2 separate regions of the Homo sapiens genome follow, and region 2 is linked to region 1. Evidence: promoter capture Hi-C in 16 types of primary human blood cells and fetal thymus (Javierre and others, 2016). All regions are on one chromosome and are shown on one strand. Each heading gives the region's core, a stretch centred on a gene start or on the middle of the fragment in contact. The rest is flanking DNA. Distances are from core to core; before and after follow the strand shown. Region 1 holds the start of KRT38 (keratin 38). Region 2 overlaps KRT40 (keratin 40).

Evidence for each region. The method cuts DNA at HindIII sites, captures the fragments that hold promoters and counts their contacts. A CHiCAGO score of 5 or more calls a contact.
Region 2: a contact is called between a fragment that was not itself captured here and the fragment with the promoter of KRT38 in region 1, in 5 of 17 cell types (naive CD8 T cells, activated CD4 T cells, naive CD4 T cells and 2 more). The highest score is 6.6, in naive CD8 T cells.

What each region holds. Positions count from the first base shown.
Region 1 is chr17:41,439,184-41,445,740 of GRCh38, forward strand. KRT38 (keratin 38) reads right to left here and starts at 1,800. Exons shown (of 7, transcript NM_006771.4): 1 at 1,247-1,800; 2 at 978-1,060; 3 at 20-176. The coding sequence starts at 1,738. RefSeq lists an enhancer at 1,456-1,956. The HindIII fragment of the contact is 7,679 bases long and covers 1-2,023 here.
Region 2 is chr17:40,976,214-40,982,770 of GRCh38, forward strand. KRT40 (keratin 40) reads right to left here. Exons shown (of 7, transcript NM_001389244.1): 3 at 6,094-6,250; 4 at 4,777-4,938; 5 at 4,572-4,697; 6 at 2,591-2,811; 7 at 1,502-2,083. The coding sequence ends at 1,984. LOC107985072 (a long non-coding RNA gene) reads left to right here. Exons shown (of 4, transcript XR_001752886.2): 3 at 4,236-4,394; 4 at 6,115-6,557. Among named protein-coding and RNA genes, the nearest start is that of KRT40, 4.8 kb to the right of the region's middle. RefSeq lists an enhancer at 3,793-4,394. The HindIII fragment of the contact is 2,975 bases long and covers 3,414-6,388 here.

The sequences.
Region 1 (6,557 bases), core at 550-3,049:
TGAGCGCCCAGGGCCACACCTGCTCGTGGTTGCTCTTGAGGGAGAGCTGCTCCTCCTTCAGGGACTCCTGCTGGGCCTCCAGGTCGGCCTTGGCCAGGGTCGCATCATCCAGGAGCTTCTGTGTCCCACACTTGTCTGCCTCCACCAGCTGGCGCAGGGAGCGCTCACTCTCCAGCCTTTCATCACAGGAGGTACAGGGTCAAAAAGAATGCCCCCAAGAGCCCCTCTCGGCTGCCCTGGCTTCCTACCTCCCACACCACCTTGGATCCTCATTTATTCACTCTGTTTAGCCCTCTGTCCTCAAAGGTGAATTAGACCCAGCCCCTCTTCTCAAAGAGCTCATGGTCTAATGGAGAAATCACAACACTACATTGCACAATATACATTTTTGCCATTGTATTCTGTGGCAACTGCAGTTCAGGAAGATCAACTGACTTGCGTAAGATCATGCATCTTGGGACCCAGTCCAACGCTCATGCCATTGCAGGGGCTGTCAGTTACCAAAGATAAGCAATAACCAGGTGCCTGATCGTGATCTGCGGCTCCTTATCCCTTGCTTTCAGCTGTCTTCCCCTCTCTCATTTTTGCCTAGGTACCTTATACCTGGTACCTTAGGGCTCCCTAATTAAATCTGGACAAAGACTCATCTGTAAGTGACTCCTCTGACTTATATATGAAACCCAATGGCTGTCTTGCTCAGTTCATCCTTCAAATCACCTCATTTTGCTCCTGGTTAATGAACTCAGGCTGCCTTATCCTCCATTTTAGGGAAATAAATGAAGGAAGACAAACATATATGCTTGGATTAATGAGGAGTTTTCCCTTCCATCTTCCATCAGCTTCGATTGTAATGAAAATTTTACTGTAGAGAATCTAGCAAGGAAGAAATGACAATGATTCCCTCACTCAACAAGTATTTGGGCATTGGGATGGAGGGTGGGGAAGGAGTCACCCTGGCCCTCCTCCGCCTGACTTACTTGATCCTAAAGTCATCGGCAGCCAGCTTGGCATTGTCAATTTGTACAATCAGCCTGGCATTCTCGGCCTTGCTGCACAGGATCTGAGGAGAACAGGAAGACAGTTCACACACAAAGCATCATGCCCTAGGCTCCTTCTCCACGTGTGGTGTCTATGATCATGTCCAAGAGAAACCAAGAACCCAAAGTTCTCTGAGCTTTACATGGATTCCTCCTGTCTTGCCTCTGCCATCTCAGACCCAGCACACCCAAGCGATCCCACACCTCACCTTCTGTTGGAGCTCCTCGATGGTGTGGAAGTAAGACTGGTAGTCGGGGCACACGGTGGACTCGTGGCACTTGCTCCTCTCGAGGAGTGTGGCCTCCAGCTCCGCATTCTCCTGCTCCAGCTGGCGCACCTTCTCCAGGTAGTTGGCCAGGCGGTCATTCAGGAACTGCATGGTCTCCTTCTCATGGCCATTCAGGGTGTTTTCACCATAGGCCCCACAGATTCCAATGTTGCCAGGAATGTGGCAGGTCCCTGGCAAGGGACAAGCAGTGTGGCAGGTAGGCGGCAGACAGAGGCTGGGGCGGCCCAGGGGAGTGGACCCCACACGGACTCGGTTGGCATGTGCCACGTTGGCCAAAAGGCACATGGGGGCAATGTTGGCCTCTGCCCCAGGCTGGCACCCAATGTCGATGGGAGAGACAGAGACATTTCTTGCTCCAGGAGCCATGGTGCAACCCAGAGGGCATGAGGAGCTGCTGTAGGAAGAGGTCATGGTGTTGGGCTGAGGCTGCACAGGAGCTTCAGATCAGCTGGGAAAGCTGAACCACTGAGACTGAAGCCTCCTCTCCTCCCAGCCCTTTTATACCCCATCCTGGGCGGGTGTTGGCTCCAATGCTTTGACCTCCTGCCTTGATTATCTACCTGTTGTGGTGCCATCATCCTGTTACTCAGCTGCTGAGTTTACCATGAAAAGTTTCTCAGCTCGTTAAAGGAATGTTGACGAATCTGAGGCCTCTTGGCTCTTTGAAATCAGGTTGGCTGTTGATGGGAGGTCAGAAGCTTTTTATTATCTTTCAAAGAAGCAAAGTTATAGCCATCAGATGCTTAGACCTTGACTGGGTTTGGCCTCTTTATGGATGTGTCCACTCTGGAGACACAAACTTTCCTGTTGGTCAGTGGTGTAGCAGGAGGACTAACCCCGGTGATGACAATGGTTCTCACTTGGGTTAAGACTCAACCAGCCTTCCCTATCCAGGGAAGAAACTGAGTCTTGGAATTGGTGGATGTTATGGCCTTGGGTTATCAAGAAGTCCTACATTTCTTCTTTCTTTAGTTGGTTGCCTTTCAGACTCACTTTGAGGAGCAACAAGACTTAGATGAATCCAGTCACTCAAAACACATCCCCTGGCTACGTCCCATATGCTACGCACCTTGCTGATGCTTGATATATAGTTGGTTAAGCACAAAATAGTTCCTGCCATTGGGGAACAACTGTAACTTGGGTAGACGTGATGTTTCAAACAAGGTATCTGAGAAGCTCATGAAAATGAGGATGACTCCAAAAACCATGGCTTATCTCGACCAAGAAGGGCAAGCTCAAGAAGCCAGAAATAAACAAAGAGAAATGAGCAATAATCTTACTGAACCTCAAATAAGAACTTGGTCATGAAAGTCAAAGGACATTGAGTGATCAGAGCCTCTGTGGGCTCTCTTCATACCTTGCTTCCTTTATTCTAAAGTCAGTCATGAGCCTTCACCCTATGAGCTAGGGGATTGAGCAATGATACCTTTTAATCTTTACTTCCAACCTGGGAGGTGGGTACTCTTAATTTTACAAAATAAATAAACAAGCCATTGAGGACAGTTTTCTAAGATCAACCTCACTATAAAGTATAAAGCCTATTCTCAACATCAGCTTCTTTCAACTCCAGAAACTGTTTCTTCACCTTGACCACCTCCAAATCCTCCACCCCAAGGATAACTACTGTGTCATTGCTAGAACTAAGAAGGATTCAAATTCCTAGAAACCGGGCAAGAAGTTGAAATTAAGATGTAAAACAAAAATCTGACATTGTGTATTTTTCCCTTTGTATCTCAGAAAATACAGATGTGGAGGTATTCATACAATAAAACAGAGTTTCTCCAAGGGCTAAATCAGAAGATGCCAGGGGAAAGTCCTGTCCCTAAAATGGTTATATTACACATTCCACATTCAGATAGTTCTTGGTACTAGGGATCCAAGACACATGGCTGCTGAGATCCCAAAACTTTTCTCCCAAAATTTGTGACAGAAGATACATAGACCCCTGAGACTAAGAAAAACCTAATGTGGAACAATCCAAAGTGATTATAACTAGAATTTTGGGAAAATGAGTTTTTGCCAGTCCCCTGAGCATTGAACAAAAGCTGAACATACACCTCTATAGGGATCAGACGTGCATATGTGAAACACAGGCTATTGGAGTTCTATCAAGAAGAAATACAGAATCTGAGAATTCAGTCCAGATTGGGCTTCTCAGGAAAGTAAGTAGTAGTGAGCGCTGACCTAAGGGTTATTCAGAGCTCACCAATCCATAACCCTTTACAGACAACATCATTGGGAGACATCACCAGGGCAGGCTGTCCCATCCTCCAGAGGCCACTGGGTGCAATCTGCATATGTTACATCTTCAAACACCCTTTTGTTACTCTCCTCCGCCTCATCACATAGCAACAAGCTTCTCTATAAATCAGAGAGCCAGGCTTTTAAAGTCATTTCCTTTGATTTGCTAAGTAGCACCCATCTTTTGGCTTTATCCTCTGCCCAGATTCATTCCATGGACTAAAAGCCACGATTTCGTCCATTCACAATACATGACTCATCACTGCTGAAGCCTTGTGTGTCCAGATGACACCCCTCTCTGCCAACTGGCTTGGGTCCTGGCTTGGGCTTCTACCTTGTACTGTTTTGCATAATGATACTGATGTTGCATGGCTCTTTGTAAAATCGCTTTGTTCCCCTGATTTGTATTTTCTCAAAGGAGGTGAAGGAGCGGGTGGGGATCCTAAGACTCTCTTCCTTCCCAACCCTTTAAAAAGAGTCCCTGTGGCCCCTGGTGACCGAATATGAGGCCAGGTTCAGTAACAAGAAGTGATGAATACAGAGTGTGAGAGATGGGAGCCTGCTGCCCTCCTTCATTCACCTGTGTGCACAACATTCTCTGTGTGGATTCTGACTTTAGACATGCCGATCTCTAGAGGCATGAAGTCTACTGCAAATGGAGGTGAGGAGCTGTGGTCTTGGAATGCCATTTTCACTAATTTTGATACATAGGGGCATATCTCAACCAATGGGAGAGAAAGGTATGGAGCTGTAGGCTAGCACCTGGAGATTGTGCCTAACTCAAAGTTTATCTTTTCTGTGTCATGGCTCCTACTGCTGGAAGATGCAGGGAGGCATCTAGGGAGTTGTGCCCTGTGTGGGAACGTCACCCATCACACATTGCAGTGAATGCAAAGATTTATGACAAGTACTATATGTAGAGTTAGTGCTGCCACATCTCCAGGGTGTTAGAAAATGGTGTCCCAAACAATCCTAGATCAAGAAACCATGAAGACTCTTGAGAGAAGAGGCTGAGCATATAAATGTATTATTCTAGGTATCCAACTCCTGAGGCTTTGATGAATGGAAAAGGTACACTTCTGTTCAAATTAAATATGATTTTATCTATATATGAATGTATGCTCATTTGTGATTAAGAAATACAAACTAAAGAGATATTGTTTTCTTATCAGGTTTTGCTAAGTTGGATAATAGCACACAGTGTTGGCATGAGTGTGGGAAACAAGTCCTATCCTCTCCTGTGGATGACAGTCACGAGCTTCCACCTCTGCACATAGGCACAGAAACCGGGGCCCGTGCGTTGGGACCTGTGAGCCTCACACCTGCCTCTGATGGCATCATTTGCTGCTCCAGGCTTCACTGCAATCGACCCACTTGGAGAGTAGCTCAGGAGGCTCACCCTGCCCTGGCAAGCAATAGTGAGGGAAGAGACTCCAGAAGATGAATTAGAAAGAGTTGGAAAATCTTTGAGAAGCAAGACCCTAAGAAGGGAAGAAAATATAGAATTCTGTTTCAACCAGAATAAAAACAGATCTTTGGCACAGGTCAAAGATCCTCATTGTGGAAAATATTGAACTGCTTTCTGTTGCTCATTACAAACCCATGATTATGAAACATGCTGAGTCTGAAACAGCTCAGTGGCCGTTCTCTGTCACAGATAGATTGAGCTGTGTGGGCTCACTCATGCTCTCTGCAAAGCCTTCTCTGGCTTCCCAGGTAGGCTGCTCTCCCTCTGCTGACACACTCTTCTCACCCTGGGAAACTGTGGCTGTATCAGAGGTGGTAGCTCCCCACCATGGACTTGGGATCTCCAGGACATCAGGGAGTTTGTCTCATTGCTTTTTCCTCTTTCATCTCCATATCCCCAGACTCTGGCACAGAGCCCGGCTACAGAGTAGGTTCTGCATCCATGTGTGTTTAATTATGTAAGCAGGTAATGAGAAACACAGTAGCACCAAGCAAAGATATTTGTATGCTGAAACAATGAAGTAAAATCATAGATTCTTAAGCAATGTGGATAAATACACAACCAGAGATATGCCGGCAAATTAGCTCTCTGGGGGGAAAACCCCTCCAGTTTGTAGTGTAAGCCAATTTCTGTGGTGTAAATACTCCCACAATAGCCAACTTCAAGCAAACAATATGATGTCACTGAATGTGGAGTTGGAAAGAGATGTGAAAAATCGGCTCTTGTGAGTTATAAGAGTTAGCTCCAGCGTACCACTTGATCCCACTTTCTAAAACCAAAATCCTGACAGTACATTTCTTACATAGTAATTTTTTTTATAAATCCTACAGAGAAACCAAAGGTAGATCACATTTGATGACACAGGCAAGAGACCTGCCCCTAGAGAAGAGGAAGGCATTATGGCCATGGTGCCACCCACAACTGCTTCATCTTCTCACCAGTCACTGAGATGCTGTGGTTCCCCCCAGGGCCCCACGGTCCCAGCTGCGAACTCAGGCAGCCTCTGGAAAGGGCAGAACCAGCTAGTTTGATTGCACATCACTGGGAACAACCCTTCTCTGCTGATGCAGGATGCTTCTCTCAAGTCACCTTCAAGTCTTTCTCAGATAGTGACACTGACAAAGGAAAGGTACAAGCCCAAGTGAGGCACTTAGCAAGCATTAGGCAGGGATAAGCCAGCACAGAGGAGATGACATTTGATAAAGAAAACTGTATAGATTTATGTTGGTTTTTATGTTGTGTTGAGAAAAATTACTCTCTGGACATTTTCCTAAGCTGGTCGTGTCAGCCTGTAGGGCAGTGGTTCTCAGAGTTTGGTTTCTTAGCCAGTAGCATCAGCATCTCGCAGGAACTTGTTAGAAATCCACATTCTCAGATGCCCACTCCAGACCTACTGAATGCAGATACACTGGGTGCAGGGGAGGGGGCAGCAATCTGTGTTTTTCCTTGTTTGTTTGTGTGTGTGTTTTGTTTTTGTTTTTTTGAAACAGGGTCTCACTCTATCACCCGGGCTGGAGTGCA
Region 2 (6,557 bases), core at 3,651-6,150, 460 kb before region 1:
GAGCCCCCCTCATCACTGCTGGGAGGGAGGATTTTAGACTCCTTACCTGGCCTCTGCTGATACCACCCTGGCCAGGAGGGGCAGGAATATCTTGTTATTGCTCCCATGCAGCTTCCACTGACACTGCATGGGGGTGGCCTTGGTACTGCTGGAGGAGGGAAAGAGTTCTGACTGTCCAGTAGGACTCTTGTGACACTAACCCCAGAGGAGAAAAGAAGAGCCTCACTGCAGCCTGTAGAGTTAAGTCCAGGCTTCCCGTGTGGTCTCCACTGATACCATGATGGTGGGACAGGGAGTGCTTCCATGTCTCATAGTAGGAATGAAAGTCCTGGATCTCTCACTTAGCCTTCCCTGATTCCACCCCAGTGGTGAAGTTTGAGTGCCTTATTACAGCCTGGGAAGGATAGAAGTCTGGACTCCCCACCTGGCCTTTCCTTGTGTGGATATGGGTGGGTGAAATGATATTTTCTGTGGTGTTTGGCTGAGTTGAGTGGTTATTGTCTAAAGGTTTTCCGCCTTTCTAGGCTGCCTCTTTTCTGGTTCTTTAAGCAGAGCAAGCTCTTTCTGTTTGTTTGTTTGTTTGTTTTGTCTGCACCTGTTGGTGTTTCTGGTTGTTGGTTTCTCCAGCTCCCCCTCTGGGATATATGAGATAAAAAGCTAATCCAGGGAGCTCACCACAGTGTCACTCCTGGAGTCTCAACATCTTTAGGTGGTTTGGCTTCTTCTTCTACCTTTCAGAGTCCTCTTATGTTTATTTGATATGTAATTTCCAGGGTTTTTAGGAGGAGGAATATGGAAATATACATCATTCTGGAAGTTCTCTACCTTGTTTTTTAAATATATGAGAATAATTATTCTTATAACCTAAATGTCCAATAACAGATCAATGTACCTTATGGTACATTATGCAACCAGTAAAATGATGGCTACAGGCTGGGTGCAGTGGCTCACACCTGTAATCCCAGCACTTTGGGAGGCTGAAGCTGGTGGATCACAAGGTCAAGAGATTGAGACCATCCTGGCTAACACGGTGAAACCCTGTCTCTACTAAAAAAAAAAAAAAATTAGCCTGGTGTGGTGGCAGACACCTGTAGTCCCAGCTACTTGGGAGGCTGAGGCAGGAGAATCGCTTGAACCCAGGAGGCAGAGGTTGCAGTGAGCCCAGATAGTGTGACTACACTCCAGCCTGGGTGACACAGCAAGACTCTGTCTCAAAAAAAAAATAAAAAATAAAAAAAGTGATGGCTACAATACAATCTTATGTTTTTATTAGAATTAAAAATGCTTAGATGACATAAATGAAAGAAAGTTTACACAAGTGTGTGCATATGTTAGTATGATTATAGCTGTGTGGAAAAATCTATTATAAGAAAGAAAACTGGAAGAAAGTACCCCAAAATATTGACTATGGCTGTTTGGAAGATGAAATCATAAGTGACCTTTTCCCTTTTAATGAGCCAAATTTAAAAAAAGAGAATCTAGTACTTTTATAATCAAAAAATACATTTTATCATATTTTATTCCTAATATTTTTCCTCAGAAAGATACACACAACTATTTTCTAAGATATATGACATTTCTCATGGGTTCATTAATTTATTTGTATTTGAGGAGTTAAAAAATATTTTCAGCCTGGGTTTATGTACATTGAAACTATGGTTATGGGTTTAGATGATTTCCTTGCCATAAAATGAATATTCTATCAACAGTAATCAGCCATAGAGCTATATTTACCACGCTAAAGGAATAAAACACGTTTTATTTGGAGATGAGCAAGAATGCTTTATGGGCTTCCAGTATACCACAAATAAGCCGGAAGGAGAGGAAATAGTAAAGCAGAAAGACTGAGGATACCTGGAGGGCAATTCCAGGATATGAGAGCCTCCTGGATTTGTGCTTCCGGTTTGGATGTCCCTGGTTGAAGCCCCATCTCCTTTCTAGGATGCTGCTGGCTTTGATTCCTCTACCTGCTGTCCTTAACATTCACAAGCAGCAGTTTTCAACAGTGCAGATGACATAGGCTGAGCATGGCTCACAAGTGTTGCTCGAGGTGCATGTGGTCGAACATGGGCTACAGGAAAGCCTGGGGAAAAATCGATTTTCAACCAAGATTAACAAGGGAATGTTGATAAAATGGCAACTCAGAAAAACCGTGTCAAAATTTGCCCTACAAATTATGTTCTGAAAAAAACTCTGCACAATAGCATTGACTGAAGCCTGTTTCTTCTCTGCACCCAGAATTGCCACTTCATGTTCACTGTAGCAGTGGCAGTTGAATAGTATTTTATATTTTTTCTTGATTTTGCAAATGTTATCTTAGGCCTATTCCTGATTTTCCTTTAGTGGAAAACAGGAACAAAGGGAGATGCCAGCATGAAATGTTACACTAATAATTAATCTGCCTTTAGAATATTTTAAAAATATCTCTAGTGTCATGTTCTTAACCTCAGCCACTTTTCAGCACTTTTTTAAGAAGATCCCTAAACACACTGGGGAGGTCTGAACTTGTCCAGACTTTGGGGAAACAGGATTCTTTTACATCAGCCTCTTTGTGACTCTGGGGGATTTCATGAGTAACTGTGGAACTTGCCTGCTGTCCTCGCTGTCCAGCAGGCCCCAGTACGTGTTGATCTCACCCTCCAGCCGGGCCTTCACGTCCAGGAGCACCTGGTACTCCTGGTTCTGTCGCTCCAGGTCGCAGCGGATCTCGGCCAGCTGGTTCTCCAGGTTATCGATCAGACACTGAATTTGGGCCAGCTGGGAGCTGTACTGGGCCTCGGTTTCTGCCACGGTGCATTCCAGAGATTCTGTCTGCGGGAGGAAACATTGTCCAAAGGACCATGAAGTGCAGTCTCTCGGGCCAGAGTGCCTACTTTCAAATTCCTGCTTACCCTTTTCTAGCTATGTGACCACTGGCAAATTATTTAGCTTCTGTGAGTCTCAGTTTTATTCTCTGTATAGTGGAGAATACAAAGTATCTGTTTCATTAGACGGTTGTGAAGATTAAGAGTTAATATGCGGGCTGGGCGCGGTGGCTCAGGCCTGTAATCCCAGCACTTTGGGAGGCCGAGGCGGGCGGATCACAAGGTCAGAAGATCGAGACCATCCTGGCTAACACGGTGAAACCCCGTCTCTACTAAAAATATAAAAAATTAGCTGGGTACGGTGGTGGACGCCTGTAGTCCCAGCTACTCAGGAGAATGGTGTGAACCCGGGAGGCAAAGCTTGCAGTAAGTCAAGATCATGCCATTGCACTCCAGCCTGGGCGACAGAGGGAGACTCCGTCCAAAAAAAAAAAAAAAGAGTTAATGTGCGTAAAGCATTTAGAACAGTGCCAGCCATACTGCCACTGTTCTACGTGTCAACTATCACTACCACCACTATGACTACAGCAATACATGACATATTTGTGAAGCTTAAGGACTATCCACAACATATGAGAGGAAAGATTGAGTTTGGGCTCTTGGCAGGGAGGGGTAGTATAGTGCTATTAAGAGAAGAGGCTCTGGATACCAGAGGCTGGGACTGGCATATGTGTGGTAAGGGGATGAAGAGAGGTTGGTTAATGGGTGCAAACATACAGTTAGACAGAAAGAATATGTTTTCATGTTGGACAGCAGAGAAGTGTGACTACAGTTAACAACAATACACTGTGCATTTCAAAATAGCTAGATGGGAGGACTTGAAATGCTCCCAACACATAGAAATGATAAATACTTGAGGTGATGGATGCTCTAAATATCCTGACTTGATCATTACACATTCTATGCATGTAACAAAATATCACATCTACGTAAAAAAAATTTACGCATATTATATATCAATAAAAATAAATTTAAAAAGAGAGAGAGAAGAGACTCTGGGATTCAACTGGCTGAACTCAGCTTCCAAGTTTGCCTCTTAGAATTGCATCCTTTGCAAGTTACTTAATCTGAGTCTCAGTTTTCCTTATCTGTGTCATGGGATAAAGGTATCTATCCGGTAAAGTTACTGTGAGCCTTAAATCAGCATAGTGCCTCTCACAGGATGAATGCTCAGCTATTGTTCTTCTAGGTGTTCTCCGCAGGGCCTAATGACATGCACACAGTGGTGCTTGACCAGAACTGGTTCATGTCATCTTGAACGCATGGTGTTCCTGTTGCTTGAGTGGGGGGTGGTGCAGTGAAGGATAAGGTTGAAGTGTAGATCCTGGGAAACTGTAGGATGAAATGTTTGAAAATGATTCTTTGTTTTAGATATAACAGTGAGCCTGGAAAACTGGCCTGAATCAAATGAGAATTAAAACCTGCCAGAATGCTTAAGCGACCATGGCCCGGAGGTTTCTCTCCAGCTCTGCTTCTCCCTCCCTGTCTCTGGAGGCTGCTGCAGCATCAGACTCAAGCCCAGGAGTGAAGGTAAGGCATCTTAGAGGACAAGCTGTGGACCTGTCACTTCTGCTTCTATTAATAGCTGGGTAAACGGCAGTACTCGGGAAAGGCAAGGAAATGTGATCCTCGGATATGGAAGAGGGCTTAACATCTCAGGGCCTGACTTATCAGTGACACAACGGACACTGCCTTTGCCTCACGCACCAGGCTTTGCTGTGCTTGGAGCTCAATTTCCAGAGCACTGGCTGTGCGTTTCAGTTCCAAGATCTCCATCTGGCAGCCCTGCAGCTGCTCCGCGCTGGACAGTTGCTGCTGATTCAGCTCTTCTGTCTGAAACACAGACACCATTAGAGAATTCAAAAAAGGCAGAAGTCTGTAAGCCTGACATTTTTTCAATCTGGGTACTGACCTGAACAGCCAACCATTCTTCAGCTTCTCTGCGATTGTTGGCAAGCACCGTTTCACACTGACAGCGCATCTCATCCAGGACCCTGTTGAGGTCAAGGGTGGGGGCAGTGTCCAGCTCCACACTGAGGCGGTCGCCAAGCTGTTCACGAAGCAAGTTGACTTCCTGAAAGTGGGATGGTGTAAAGAATGTCACAGAATGGTGGGGAAAAATCCATTTGACATCCAATGGCATTCTACTTCTGTTTTTTGGAGCAGTGGGTAAAAGTGTGAGATTTTGATTCAGATTGCCTGGGCTGAATCTCTTTTCACCACTTAGAAGGGCCTCAGTTTCTTCGTCTGTAAAATGGACATAATAATTGGACATTTTTCCAGAAAGTTATTGTGAGATCTAGAAGAGTCAATCTACACATAATTAACTTATAAAAGTTAATTATGACACATAGTAAGGTGTCAATAAATGTTAGCTATGATTGTCATCAACAAACGTTCAAAGAGCAAATGTACTTTGTTACATCATTCAGCTTTTCATTTTCTAGCTTTATCAATATATCAGTGGCTGTATATTTTATGATTTTTAGAAGTTTATAAATGCGGAATATTTAAAAACACTGGTCCAGATAGTGCACAGTCTTTATCCCTTTTTTGAAATGGACTTCACAGTCTGTTCCTCAGCCTGATTTTCATACCCTGTGGACTGGAGCTAGGGGTGGCATAAAGCCTCCAAAGGAAGCCATTTGTGAAGTTACCTCCTCCACAAAGGCAAGGGCAGGAGAAGAGTTTGATTCCTTCCTCTGGCGCTGTCTAGGGGTTATTTCACACCTTAAATCAGAGACACACTGGAATGATCAGGTTGAATAGTAATAATGCCTCGAGTAGTTTTTGTTTGTTTGTTTGTTTGTTTGTTTTTTGAGATGGAGTCTCGCCCTGTCACCCAGGCTGGAGTGCAGTGGTAAGATCTCGGCTCACTGCAACCTCCGCCTCCTGAGTTCAAGTGATTCTCCTGCCTCAGCCTCCCGAGTAGCTAGGACTACAGGCGCCTGCCACCATGCCCAGCTAATTTTTGTATTTTTAGTAGAGATGAGGTTTCATCATATTGGTCAGGCTGGTCTCGAACTCCTGACCTTGTGATCCTCCTGCCTCAGCCTCCCAAAGTGCTTGGATTACAGGTGTGAGCCACCATGCCTGGCCCTGCCTCAAGTAGTTTTATTCCAGCTTAAACAACATCTGCCCAAATTCGATTTACAAACATCAACAGATCATCTGTCAATGTAAGTACGTTACTCTCGGAGTCCTTCAGCGGAGTTGCCACTTTCCTTACCTCTTCATGGTTTTTCTTAAGGCAAAGGAGATCTTCCTTCAGAGACTCCACATGGGCCTCCAGATCAGATTTGCACAGGGTCAGTTCCTCCAGGATCCCATGCAGGCTGCTGATGTCAGCCTCTAACAGCTGGCGAAGGGACAGTTCACTCTCGTACCTTTCACAGCAAAAGAGAAATCCAACGCTTACTTTGCTGAACGCTGTGCAAAGTGTGGGGATACATGGAGGATCGACACACGGACTTCAGGAAGCCATGTGCATAATTTCTCTTAATTCCTAAGTAATGATAAATTCAAGCTTTTAAAACATTCTTAACTTTAAAATATTATATAGAGAATATTTGTGTGTGTGTGTGTGTGTGAGAGAGAGAGATTGAGAGAGAGAGAGCCATAAGTTATTTTCAAATTAAAATTAAAGCCGGGCGTGGTGGCTCATGCCTGTAATCCCAGCACTTTGGGAGGCCA